3 separate regions of the Homo sapiens genome follow, and regions 1 and 2 are each linked to region 3. The links are contacts of gene promoters, found by promoter capture Hi-C in blood cells and fetal thymus (Javierre and others, 2016). All regions are on one chromosome and are shown on one strand. Each heading gives the region's core, a stretch centred on a gene start or on the middle of the fragment in contact. The rest is flanking DNA. Distances are from core to core; before and after follow the strand shown.

The links. The method cuts DNA at HindIII sites, captures the fragments that hold promoters and counts their contacts. A CHiCAGO score of 5 or more calls a contact.
Region 1: a fragment that was not itself captured here is called in contact with the fragment with the promoter of CDK13 in region 3 in 1 of 17 cell types (naive CD4 T cells); the score reaches 5.2 in naive CD4 T cells.
Region 2: a contact is called between a fragment that was not itself captured here and the fragment with the promoter of CDK13 in region 3, in 1 of 17 cell types (naive CD8 T cells). The highest score is 6.0, in naive CD8 T cells.

What each region holds. Positions count from the first base shown.
Region 1 is chr7:38,174,300-38,177,617 of GRCh38, reverse strand. No RefSeq gene overlaps it. Among named protein-coding and RNA genes, the nearest start is that of STARD3NL, 2.3 kb to the left of the region's middle. RefSeq lists an enhancer at 1,474-2,673. The HindIII fragment of the contact is 1,146 bases long and covers 835-1,980 here.
Region 2 is chr7:38,369,371-38,372,938 of GRCh38, reverse strand. The region is part of intron 3 of TRG-AS1 (T cell receptor gamma locus antisense RNA 1); the gene reads right to left. Among named protein-coding and RNA genes, the nearest start is that of TRG-AS1, 30 kb to the right of the region's middle. RefSeq lists an enhancer at 2,735-2,784. The HindIII fragment of the contact is 4,800 bases long and covers 1-3,568 here.
Region 3 is chr7:39,947,753-39,951,505 of GRCh38, reverse strand. It overlaps CDK13 (cyclin dependent kinase 13), which reads right to left and starts at 1,250. Exons shown (of 14, transcript NM_003718.5): 1 at 1-1,250. The coding sequence starts at 864. CDK13-DT (CDK13 divergent transcript) reads left to right here and starts at 2,087. Exons shown (of 1, transcript NR_158201.1): 1 at 2,087-3,753. RefSeq lists enhancers at 1-42, 1,183-1,462, 963-1,881, 1,933-2,182, 2,253-2,382 and 3 more and silencers at 253-312, 383-672, 1,463-1,692. The HindIII fragment of the contact is 3,453 bases long and covers 1-2,551 here.

The DNA of each region.
Region 1 (3,318 bases), core at 158-2,657, 1.8 Mb after region 3:
AACGGATGCTACACTTATTCACATTTTTAGAAGTACAGAGGTATACAGTGAACATTCTTTGGATCCCCATTTCATTATTTGTATATTTTTCCAAAGTCATTCTAAGTACCGTTATTAATTTTAAATTACACAAGTAAGATTTTGTCCATGCGAAAAAAAAAAAAAGCTTAAACGTTACAATTATGCTTATATCCCTTTTAGGCCCTAATTACAAACCCAGTCTGTAGATGATGACTCCTAGTTCCTGTGCATTTGCAAGTGTAGATGTTACTTTTTTACACTTAGCATTGAAATCTTTCCATATCTGTATATAAATCTACCTCATTCTCTGAAAATGCTGCATGTCCTCAGAACCAATATGTGTATATATATACATACATAATTAATGTACCATTCCCCCACCCTCACGTTTGTTTATTAATATTATTATGAGAAGCAATGGTACCATAAATATATATGTAGATGCCTTTTTGTACTTAGGTCCAAGTATTTCTCTAGAGTGCAGATACCAACAAGAGAATGTACTGGATCACAGAGTTTGCACGATGTAAATCCTTAATAGATTTCACTGATTTGCTCCCCTGAGTAGTTGTTTTAACTTACATTCCCACTGCTAGTATTTGAGCAATTTTTCCCTGTATCCTCGCCAATACTGATAAAATACAATTTAAAAAAATTTTATAAACTGATAGATGTGAAAACCTTTTAAAGCATAACACATATACAAAATAAGTGTAATAATCATAAGTGCTTGTCTTAGTGACAGTGTGAACAAACTTGTGTAACCACCGCCTCACAGCAAAATTTTAAATGTTTACCAGCAATTTAGAAGCTTTCCTCATGCTCAGTCTTAGTCATTATACCCCTACACACAGATAGGCACAATTCTGAATCCTACCACCCAATTAGTTTTGCCTGCTTCTGAATGTTTATAAATAGTCATACATAATACGCACTCTTATGTGGCTCTTTTTGCTTAATACTATATTTGTAAGATTGATCCATATTCAAGAATATAATAGTTTCATTTTCATTTTTGTATATAATTCTAAAATTTACTTGCCTATTCTACTGTTGTTTGACATTAGATTATTTAAAGTTTGGGGTAATTACAAATGACGCTGCTATGAATATTCTTGTACCTGTCTTATGATGCACATAGTTACACATTTGATTTTGGAAGATCCCTGGAAGTAGTGTTACTATGCACAGGGTATATATTCAATATATTCAACATTAATAGACACTGCCAAATAGTTTTTAGGTTTTACTAATTTATACATGCCCTAGTCGTGAATGAAAATTTCAGTTACTCTGCATCTTTGCCAACACTTACTATACTCATTTGTGTTTTGTGTTCTTCCTTTTTCTTTTCCTTTTTAAATGTTATACATTCTGGTGAATATGTAGAGGCATCACATTGTGGATTTAATTGCATTCACTCATGTGTAGCCTCTGAAGTCTCAAAGAAATTGATGGAAACCATTCCTAAGGAAGCCCAGATAGTGGACTTATTAGATAATGATTTAAGTCAACTGTCTTACATATGCTCAAAGAACTAAAGGAAACTGAGAGATGAAGCCGGCTGGGCTTCTAGGTTGGGTGGGGACTTGGAGAACTTTTCTGTCTAGCTAAAGGATTGTAAACACACCAATCAGCACTCTGTGTCTAGCTAAAGGTTTGTAAATGCACCAATTAGCACTCTGTGTCTGGCTAATCGGGTGGGGACTTGGAGAACTTTTCTGTCAAGCTAAAGGATTGTAGATGCACCAATCAGCACTCTGTGTCTGGCTAAAGGTTTGTAAACGCACCAGTCAGCACTCTGTAAAAACGGACCAATCAGCACTCTGTAAATGGACCAATCAGCGCTCTGTAAAATGGACCAATCAGCAGGATGTGAGTGTGGCCAAATAAGGGAATAGAAGCAGGCCACCCGAGCCAGTAGCAGCAACCCACCTCGACTTCCACACTGTGGAAGCTTTGTTCTTTCGCTCTTTGCAATAGATCTTGCTGCTGCTCACTCTTTGGGTCCGCATTACCTTTATGAGTTGTAATACTCACCGCAAATGTCTGCAGCTTCACTCCTGAAGCCGGGGAGACCACGAACCCAACAGGAGGAATGAACAACTCCAGATGCGCTGCTTTAAGAGTTGTAACACTCACTGCGAAGGTCTGCAGCTTCACTCCTGAAGTCAGCGAGACCACGAACCCACCGGGAGAAACAAACAACTCTGGATATGCCACCTTAAAGAGCTGTAACACTTACTGTGAAGATCTGTGGCTTCACTCCTGAAGTCAGCAAGACCATGAACCCTCCAGAAGGAACAAACTCTGGACACACCATCTTTAAGAACTGTAACACTCACCGTGAGGGTCCGCAGCTTTATTCATGAAGTCAGCGAGACCAAGAAACTCACCAATTCTAGACACAAAACCAAGAACATAAAACCTGAAGGAAACTAGGGTAATGATGTATAAACAAAAGGAAAATATCAATAAAAAGATAGAAATTATCAAAAGGAACCAAATAGAAAATCTTGGGCTTGCAAGTACAAATAAGTGAAGTGAAAACTTCACTTGAGAATTTCAAGAAACATTTTCGCATGTTGAAGGATGAATCAGTAAACTTTAAGATAGGAAAACTGAAATTATCCAGTCTTAGGAGCAGAAAGAAATAACAGGAAAATGAGCAAAGCCTAAGGAACCTATGGGATATCAACAAGGATACCGAAATATATATTACAGAAGTCACACAAGGAAAAGAGAGAAAAAGAAAAACTACATTAGCGGAGAAAAATGTCTCAGAACTCCCCAAATTTGAAAAGAGAAAGATAAGATTCAATTAAATAAAATGAGAAATGAAAGTGAAGACATTATATCAAACTTATATATGGAAAAAGGATTGTAAGATTTGACTGTGAACAGTTGTGTGCTGACAAATAACCTGAATGAAAAGGACATGTTCCTAGAAACACAGAAATTACCAAAACTAACTCAAGAAAAAATAGGAACTATAACCAGATCTATAACAAAGAGATTTAATCAGTCCTTTAAAAACAACAACAACAAAACCTTAAAAAACAAAAGTCAAAGACCAGATGGCTTCACTGGTGAATTCTACTGGACATTTAAAGAATTAACACCAATCCTTCTCAAACTCTTCCAAAAAATTGAAGAGGTGGGAACACTTCCTAACTGAATCTATGAGGCCACTAGTATTCTCATACCAAAGCCAGACAAAGACACCATAAGAAAACTAGAGACCAATATTCCTATATGAATATAGACTCAAAATCCTCAACAAAATATCAGCTATTT
Region 2 (3,568 bases), core at 755-3,254, 1.6 Mb after region 3:
CATTTATCCCATCCAAATATACATATATTTGATACAGGGTCTCACTCTGTTGCCCAGGCTGGAGTGCGGTGGCACGATCACAGCTCACTACAGACTTGACCTCCCAGACTCAAGGGATCCTCCCACCTCAGCCTCCCAAGTAGTTGGGACTACAGGCGTGTGCCATCACGTGCAGCTAAATTTTTGTATTTTTTGTGGAGACTGGGTTTCACCATGTTGCTCAGGCTGGTCTGGAACTCCTGGGCTTAACTGATCTGCCTGCCTCGGCCTCCCACAGTGCCGGGATTACAGGCATGAGCCACCGTGCCCAGCCTCATTGATACACATTAAATGCCTACTACGTTCCAGGCCTTGTGCTGTGTGCTCTTGATACTGAGGTGTGTGCCCCCTTAAGCTCATTGAAAACACTATTGACCTGCGTCACTGCGGTCACAAAGTGATACAGAGAGCCCAGACAACCATTTAGAGGTGAGGAAATTCTAATAATTCATGGTAAGCAGATTGTTTCCCATAGTGTTGCTAGGGAACATCTCACAGCAGACTGAAATAGAAATACAAGCAATTGTCTGCGCACTAGAACTTTCTCCCCAAGGCAGTGCTATTTTTTTAAACAATTCTTCTATCATCATCATCATAATGCTGACCTCTTGATATGTAAAGGTACAATTACGAGGAGAAGCAGAAGAACATTTACATCTGTGAGTTTGCACCTCTCTCCCACCATAGTGAGCAGATCACACCCTCAGGACCCCAGAAGACTGGCAAGGAGGACTTGATAGAGACAAAAGGAGAGACACAAGAGGGGACAGAGTGTTCATATGAAGAGGGAGAGGGCATGATATAGAGACAGTGACGGCAACAGAAAGTAGAAAGTTGAAGAGGGACAGAGAGCAGAGTGGAAGTGAGAAGGAAAGAAAATGACTAGGACAGTGGCCATACAAGCAAAAAGAGCAAGAGACAGAGACACGTGGAGAGGTATAGTTCTCTATCATGGCGGGGGAGAGAGAGAGAAAACAGAGAAAGAAATACAAAACACAGAGAGAGGGTGAGAGACAAAGGGACAGAGAGACAGCGAGAGAGGGAGGGAAGATGGAGAGAGAGAAAACAACAGAGAAGAGAGAGAAACTGTGATATAAATATAGCGACAGGGACAGGGACAGTGATGGAGAGAGACAGAGAAATAGGGAAAGATACAAGAAGAGAGAACTGGAGTTAGGGGGAGAGATAGGGAGAGAGAGAGAACGATAGACCTGTGGAGACAGAAGCATACACGTGGACACACAGAGTGCGGCAGTGTTAGGAAGATAGAGATAAATATACAGAAATAATGGTAAATATTGAGATAGAAAAATATATATAAAGAGAAAAAACAAAGAAATATGCATATTTATATATTGTAAAAATATACATAAATGTATTTATACATGTATAATATGTTATATATAAAATATTATATATATTTCTATACAAAAAATTAGCCGGGTGTGGTGGCGGGCACCTGTAATCCCTGCTACTCGGGAGGCTGAGGTAGGAGAATGGCATGAACCAGGGAGGTGGAGCTTGCAGTGAGCCAAGATCGCGTCACTGCACTCCAGCCTGGGCGACAGAGCGAGATTCCGTCTCAAAAAAAAAAAATTATATGTATTTCTAGCTTTCCTTTTCTCTTCATATATTCTATCTGTCTGTCTGTCTATCCATACTATTGCCACAATAACGCCATGTAGCAAATATCCCAAACTCAGTGGCTTAGCACAATAATCATCTACAAATTCTTACAAATGCGTAGGTTTGCTAGACTGTTCTGCTGATCTAAACCAAGCTCATCTGATCTTGGCTGGGCTTGGCCACATGTCAGGCAGCTGCTGGGTTAGCTGGGAGGGGGACTGCCTGGTCAAAGTGCCTGGGTCTGAATAAATCAGCTCCACTACACACAGGGTTTCATCCTCCAACAGGCTAGCCTGGATTTGTTCTAATGACAATGACAGAAAGCAAAGAGCTAGCAGAAGCACATCAGGCCACTTGAAGCCTCAATTCAGAACTGGAGCCCTATGAGTTCTTCTTGTATTTAAAAAAAAAAAAAGGCGGGGGGCATAAACGGCGCCTCTTAATCGAAGGAGCTTTGACTTATCAAGAATGAGTTCCACTTCTGGAAAATTTGCAGTGAGCCCACACTGCCTTGTCTGGCTCACAAATGCAACTATGAACCCTGAATCTGAGGACTTTGAAAAATAAATGATAGCAAGTCAACTGGAGAAGGAAATCGGAAAGTGAAGCACTATGAATTCCCAGTAAGTTTCTTATTTATTTTTCCTCAATTATCCCCTGGCCTGTACTCAGATAATCAGAGTATATGTACAAAGATAATCTGAAATGCAGAACTGTACACCAGGTGAGGACAGAGAGAAAGGGGGACTCTCTGTGGTCAGAGAGCCCTGGTTTTCTGTTTTTTGTCCTTTTCCATTCTCTCGCAGCCCCCAGGCAATCTGAGTGGCAGTGGCAGCAGCTATGGTGAGCCAGGAGCCTAAAGCTCTTAGGAAAGGGATCCTTCTCTCTGACCAGGGAAGCTGTGGCCCTGAGAGAGAATCCTGGTGGTTTTTGTTCTCTATCCTCTCACCACTTGGCCCTGGAGGGAGACACAATGGTGGGAAATGCAGTGTGCTAAAGCCACACCTGTCTGGCCAGACGACTGGAGGGGCATTTCCTGTGAACTAGAAAGTATTGCAGAGCTTGCAGAGAGAAAGAAGATTAAGCAAGAAACATCATGCAATGATGTCTGGACTCCTGGGCTCACCCACTAGCTGTGCATGCATAAACGTGACCCTAAACAGCTCCAAAGCCAAAGGCCTTGCAAACCGAAGCAGGAGTAGGCACTGCCCAGGTCCTAGAATGGCCACTGGGTGGCGCACACACAGGACAGGTCTGACAAGACAAGTACTGCAAAGGCTGGAAAACGGAACTGACTGGAACTGCCCACCAAACACCAGTAGGAAGTTGTAATCCCTAACTGCGTCAGTTGCCTGCTAACAAAAAAACCCCCTCCACATTCTGTGTAATATTTAAACAATGCCCAGAGCTCTATAACATGATATTCAAAGTGTACAGGATTTAATCCGAAATTACTCCGCATGTGGAGGACGAGGAAAATCTTAGCATCTCCAAACGGAAAAGCCAAACAACAGATGCTAATCCTGACACGACACAGGTGTTGGAATAACAAAGACTTTAAAGGAGCTATAGTGACCACAGGAAGAAATGGAAAGAGAGGAGGAGAGAAGGAGGTAGAAAGTAAATAGATAGGAGAGATACAAATAGAGAAATAGAAAAAGAGATGAATAGAGATAGGCAGATAGAGAGACAGAAACATAAAGATATGAACAGAGTAAGAAACAGGAGCACTAAAGCAAAATAGAGGAGACTGAGAGCTGTAAGAGGGAGCTATAGAAGGAAAAATGTAAAGGGAGGAACAAAAACGGGACAGAGAAAAAAGAAATATGGACATAAAGACGGAGATGGAAGGACATAGTGATAGAAAGCAATGCAGGAGATAGAGAAATAGAATAGTAGAGAG
Region 3 (3,753 bases), core at 1-2,500:
CTCCTTGGACGACTTAGTCCGGCTGCGGTGGGCCTTCGAGTCCCGGTCCTTGCGGCTGCTACTGCTGCTGGATGTGGCCGAAGCGCTTTTCCGGCGGCCGCCGCTGCTGCTGCTGCTGCCGCTCTTGGCGACCTCGGCCCGTTCCTCGCCGCTGTGGCTGTGGCGGCTGCGGGACTTGGAGGCCTCGCTGCCACCGCGCTGCCCATCCCGCCGCCGGTGCTCGCGGTGGCGCTCCTTGCTGCGGCCACTGCTGCTGCGGCGGTCCCGGCGGGGCCTGCGCTCCGACCCCTCCCCGCGCCGCTGGGTGCCGGAGGAGGAGGCCGGACTCCCGCCGCTGCCCCCCGTTCCCCCGGCAGCCGTCGCCGCCGTTGCCGCGCTGGCCCCCCCCAGCAGCAGCCCCTGCTCGGACTGGGAGCTCACATCCTCGTATTCCACCAGCGGGGTCACACCCCCGCCGCTACTAGCACCGCCACCGCCGTCCTGCTGCGGCTGGGGCAGCGAGAAGACCCGACGCTTCTCCGCCTCCTGCCCGGCGCGGGGCCCGCGACGCCGCTTCTGCCGCCCTCCTGCGCGCCTCTTGCCTCTCGCCAGCCGCTTGACCTCCAGAGGGGGGCCCGGGCTGAAGCAAGAGGAGGAGGCCGCGGCGGCGGCGGCTGCGGCGGCGGCCGTGCCGGGAGCAGCCAGGAAGAGCAGAGGCGGCGGGGGCGGCGGCGGTTGCAGGAGCTGCGGCTGCAGGAGCGGCAACAGCAGCGGCGGCTGCTGAGGGGACAGGAATCGCCTCCGCTTGCGGCGTTCCTCCAACTTCTTCTCCGCCCAGCTCAGGCCCCCGCCTCCCCCCAGCGCCGTGTCCGAGCTGCTCGGCATCGCCTAGAGCCAGCCGCAGAGCGCGGCGCGGGTGCGGCCTCCTCCCGGGTCAGATCCTGGCCATCTCCCCCGCCGGAAACGGGAGCGGCGGCGGAGGGACACCGAGCACCAGAGCCGGCCGGGAAAAGCGCCACGATAATCCGGGTCGGGACTCGGGTCCCTGGGTTCCAGGTCACAGTGGGGTACGCAGCAGCCTCCGGGCCCCAGGGAAGCAGGAATCCGGGCGGCGGAGCTCCCGATTGCGCTCGTCGTCCTATCCTCGGCAGCGAAAACACCAGATGCGCCGGGCGCTGACCTGCGGGGGAGTCCCGAGTCCTCCAAGTGCCCCCGGGGGTGGGGGAGCGGCCTTGGCCGCGCTCTCGGCTCGGGCAGCGCAACGCGGAAGTACCACCTTCGTCGCCGCTTCACTCCATCGCGCCCTGACGTTGGGTGCAAGTTCAGGGGAGGGGAGTGGGCGAGACAACAACACGCCTCCACCGCCTCCTCCTCGGCGTCGACGTCGTCCTCCTGTGGTGGCGGCGACACACCGCAGGCGCCTCGGAAGTGGCCTGGGCCTGACAACAACTCCCGGCCTAGGGCCTCGCGCACTCTGCGGCCCGCGGGGCTGGGCAGCGGGGCGGGGCGAGGCGGGGGCGACCGGGCTGCGGCTCTCGGTTGGGGCAGCGACTGTGCGGGGCTGGGCGGGGGGCTATTTCCGGGGAGATGGGGGCAGGGGCGTTTCTGAGTCTGTGGCGGTAGGTACGGGCCCTGACTTTCTTCTTCTTTCGCCGCCGCCGCCGCCGCCAGCAGAGGTGGCGGAGCTACCCCTTTCCTCCGCTCCCCCCCTCCACGAGGAGGCTCCTGGTGTGCGCGGCCTGCCCCGGCTCGCTCCTCCCCTTCCCTCTCCGCTCCTCGTCAGGAGGAGGGAGAGCAACGGGACTTGCTGGTTGGGCCCTAACCTCCACAACCCCTCCTTCTCGCCTCGCTCTTTCGGCTTTTCCCCTCAGCCCTGACGTACGACCGGGAGCGCGCCCGCAATTCACGCTCAGAGAAAGCCGAAGATGAGAGGTGGCCGGGGCAAGAGAGGCGGGAACAAAGTTACCGCGCACTGGCGTGCTCGCTCCCGCCAGGGGCCGGCAGGCCGCACCGGAAGTGGCATGATGTAGAAACCGCTCGGCTTCCGGCGAGGGTGGGACTCCGTGTGAAGAAGGGTTAAAGAAAGGAGAGGATTCGTGTGCCGCCCACTGCTGTTGCTTGAGACTCTGCCCGTGGTGGCGCGCCTGTCGTGCTTGTTGCTTGCGTCCAGCGCGCAGTGCCGGTTCCGGCTCTGCAGACGCCGCACTGCCTGCCTGTTGAGCGAAAGGTCACAGTGAGAACAAGTGTTTCTGGAGACTGCGAGGGAAATAATGCTGTTGGTGGCCTTCTGGAGTAGGCAGTTACCCCCCGTGTACCTTCAGTCAAGCCCTGGGAGTGGAACAGCTGCGAAAGGAGAGAAAACACCCCGCAAAACAGGGTGGAGATGGCGTTGGTTTAACTTGTCTCACGTACGCCAAAGTTCGAGGCCCCATTTTTTTTTTTTTTTTTTTTGAGACTGAGTTTCGCTCTCGTTGCCCAGGCTGGAGTGCAATGGTGCGATCTCGGCTCACCGCAACTTCCGCGAGGCCCCTTCTTATCCTAAAAAACACACTTGGGAATCACAGCTCAAGCTTCGGTAACACTATTTACTTTAAAATAAAAATTTTTAAAGCTTTAAATCAATACAGGAAATAAGTGGAATGTTAAAAGGAACTACTGAAAATTCCAAATTCTCAGGAGGCTTGAAATAAAAACATCTTGTGCGAATGAGGACTGCCCTCTTAGTACTTCACCCACTTTCACCTTCATATCTAAACCTTTGGGGTTGCCAAACATAGCCATATAGTGACCTCACATCTCATTTCTTGCCTTAGAATTGCCCTTCAGTTACAGACTAAGCACTCGGGATAATTAGATTAAAATGTAAATGGCTTATTGGCTTTTAGAATGGTTGGAAACGCAAGCTAACCCTGTGCAGTGGCACACGCCTGTAGTCCCAGCTACTCCGGAGGCTGAGGCAGGAGGATCTCTGGAGCTCAAGAGTTCGAGGCTGGAGTGAGCCATGACCGTGCCACAGCACCCCAGCCTGGCCAATCAGCAGGGCGAGGCCCTGCCTCTAATAAAAGAAAAAGCTAAGCCGTCTGTTCAATGACTAAATGTAGTAACCCCTTTGAAAATTCATTTGTTCAGATCATCAGTTGGTTTAGTTCTTAAACACTTGGTATCTATCCATCGTTAATACCTTAGTGTAAATTATTTTAATCAGTTTGACATCACAGTATCACAGACTGGCCTGATTTAAGCTAAGATCAGACTTCACTGACCGAGTACAAAGGATGTTGGTTTGCTGAAGGATAAAGGAGGAGGCAAAGGAATAGGTAATCTTAAAGTCAGAGCATTTCCCAGGAGGGCAGGCCTGGGTGGGCAACACCATGGGATGGGCATTGGGAAACTGAATAGAAAAATAGGGGGCAGGGTTCCTAAAACAAATTTCTGGTTGACAGTATTGTTGAGTGAAGGTCCTGTAGCCAGCCTCCTACCAAAGACTGTTTAGCAAGTGGCTTTTTCAGAAACATGTAGGATCAACTTGTTCCATCGTCCTACGTTAGATAGACTGGAATAACAGAACAAAGAGAGCAAATAAGAGGTTTAGCTTGCAGCTCCCCTCGTGTACAACCAGTTCCACTTGAGAATGTCATCTTCTATCATATATTTTCAAAGAAAACTTGATCCATAGTAAATGGATAATTCCCATGTGTAAGTGTATTAAATGGAGAAGAAGGGAAAAAAAGTAAATGGATAGTTCCCAATCCAGGGTGCAAACAAAAAACATGT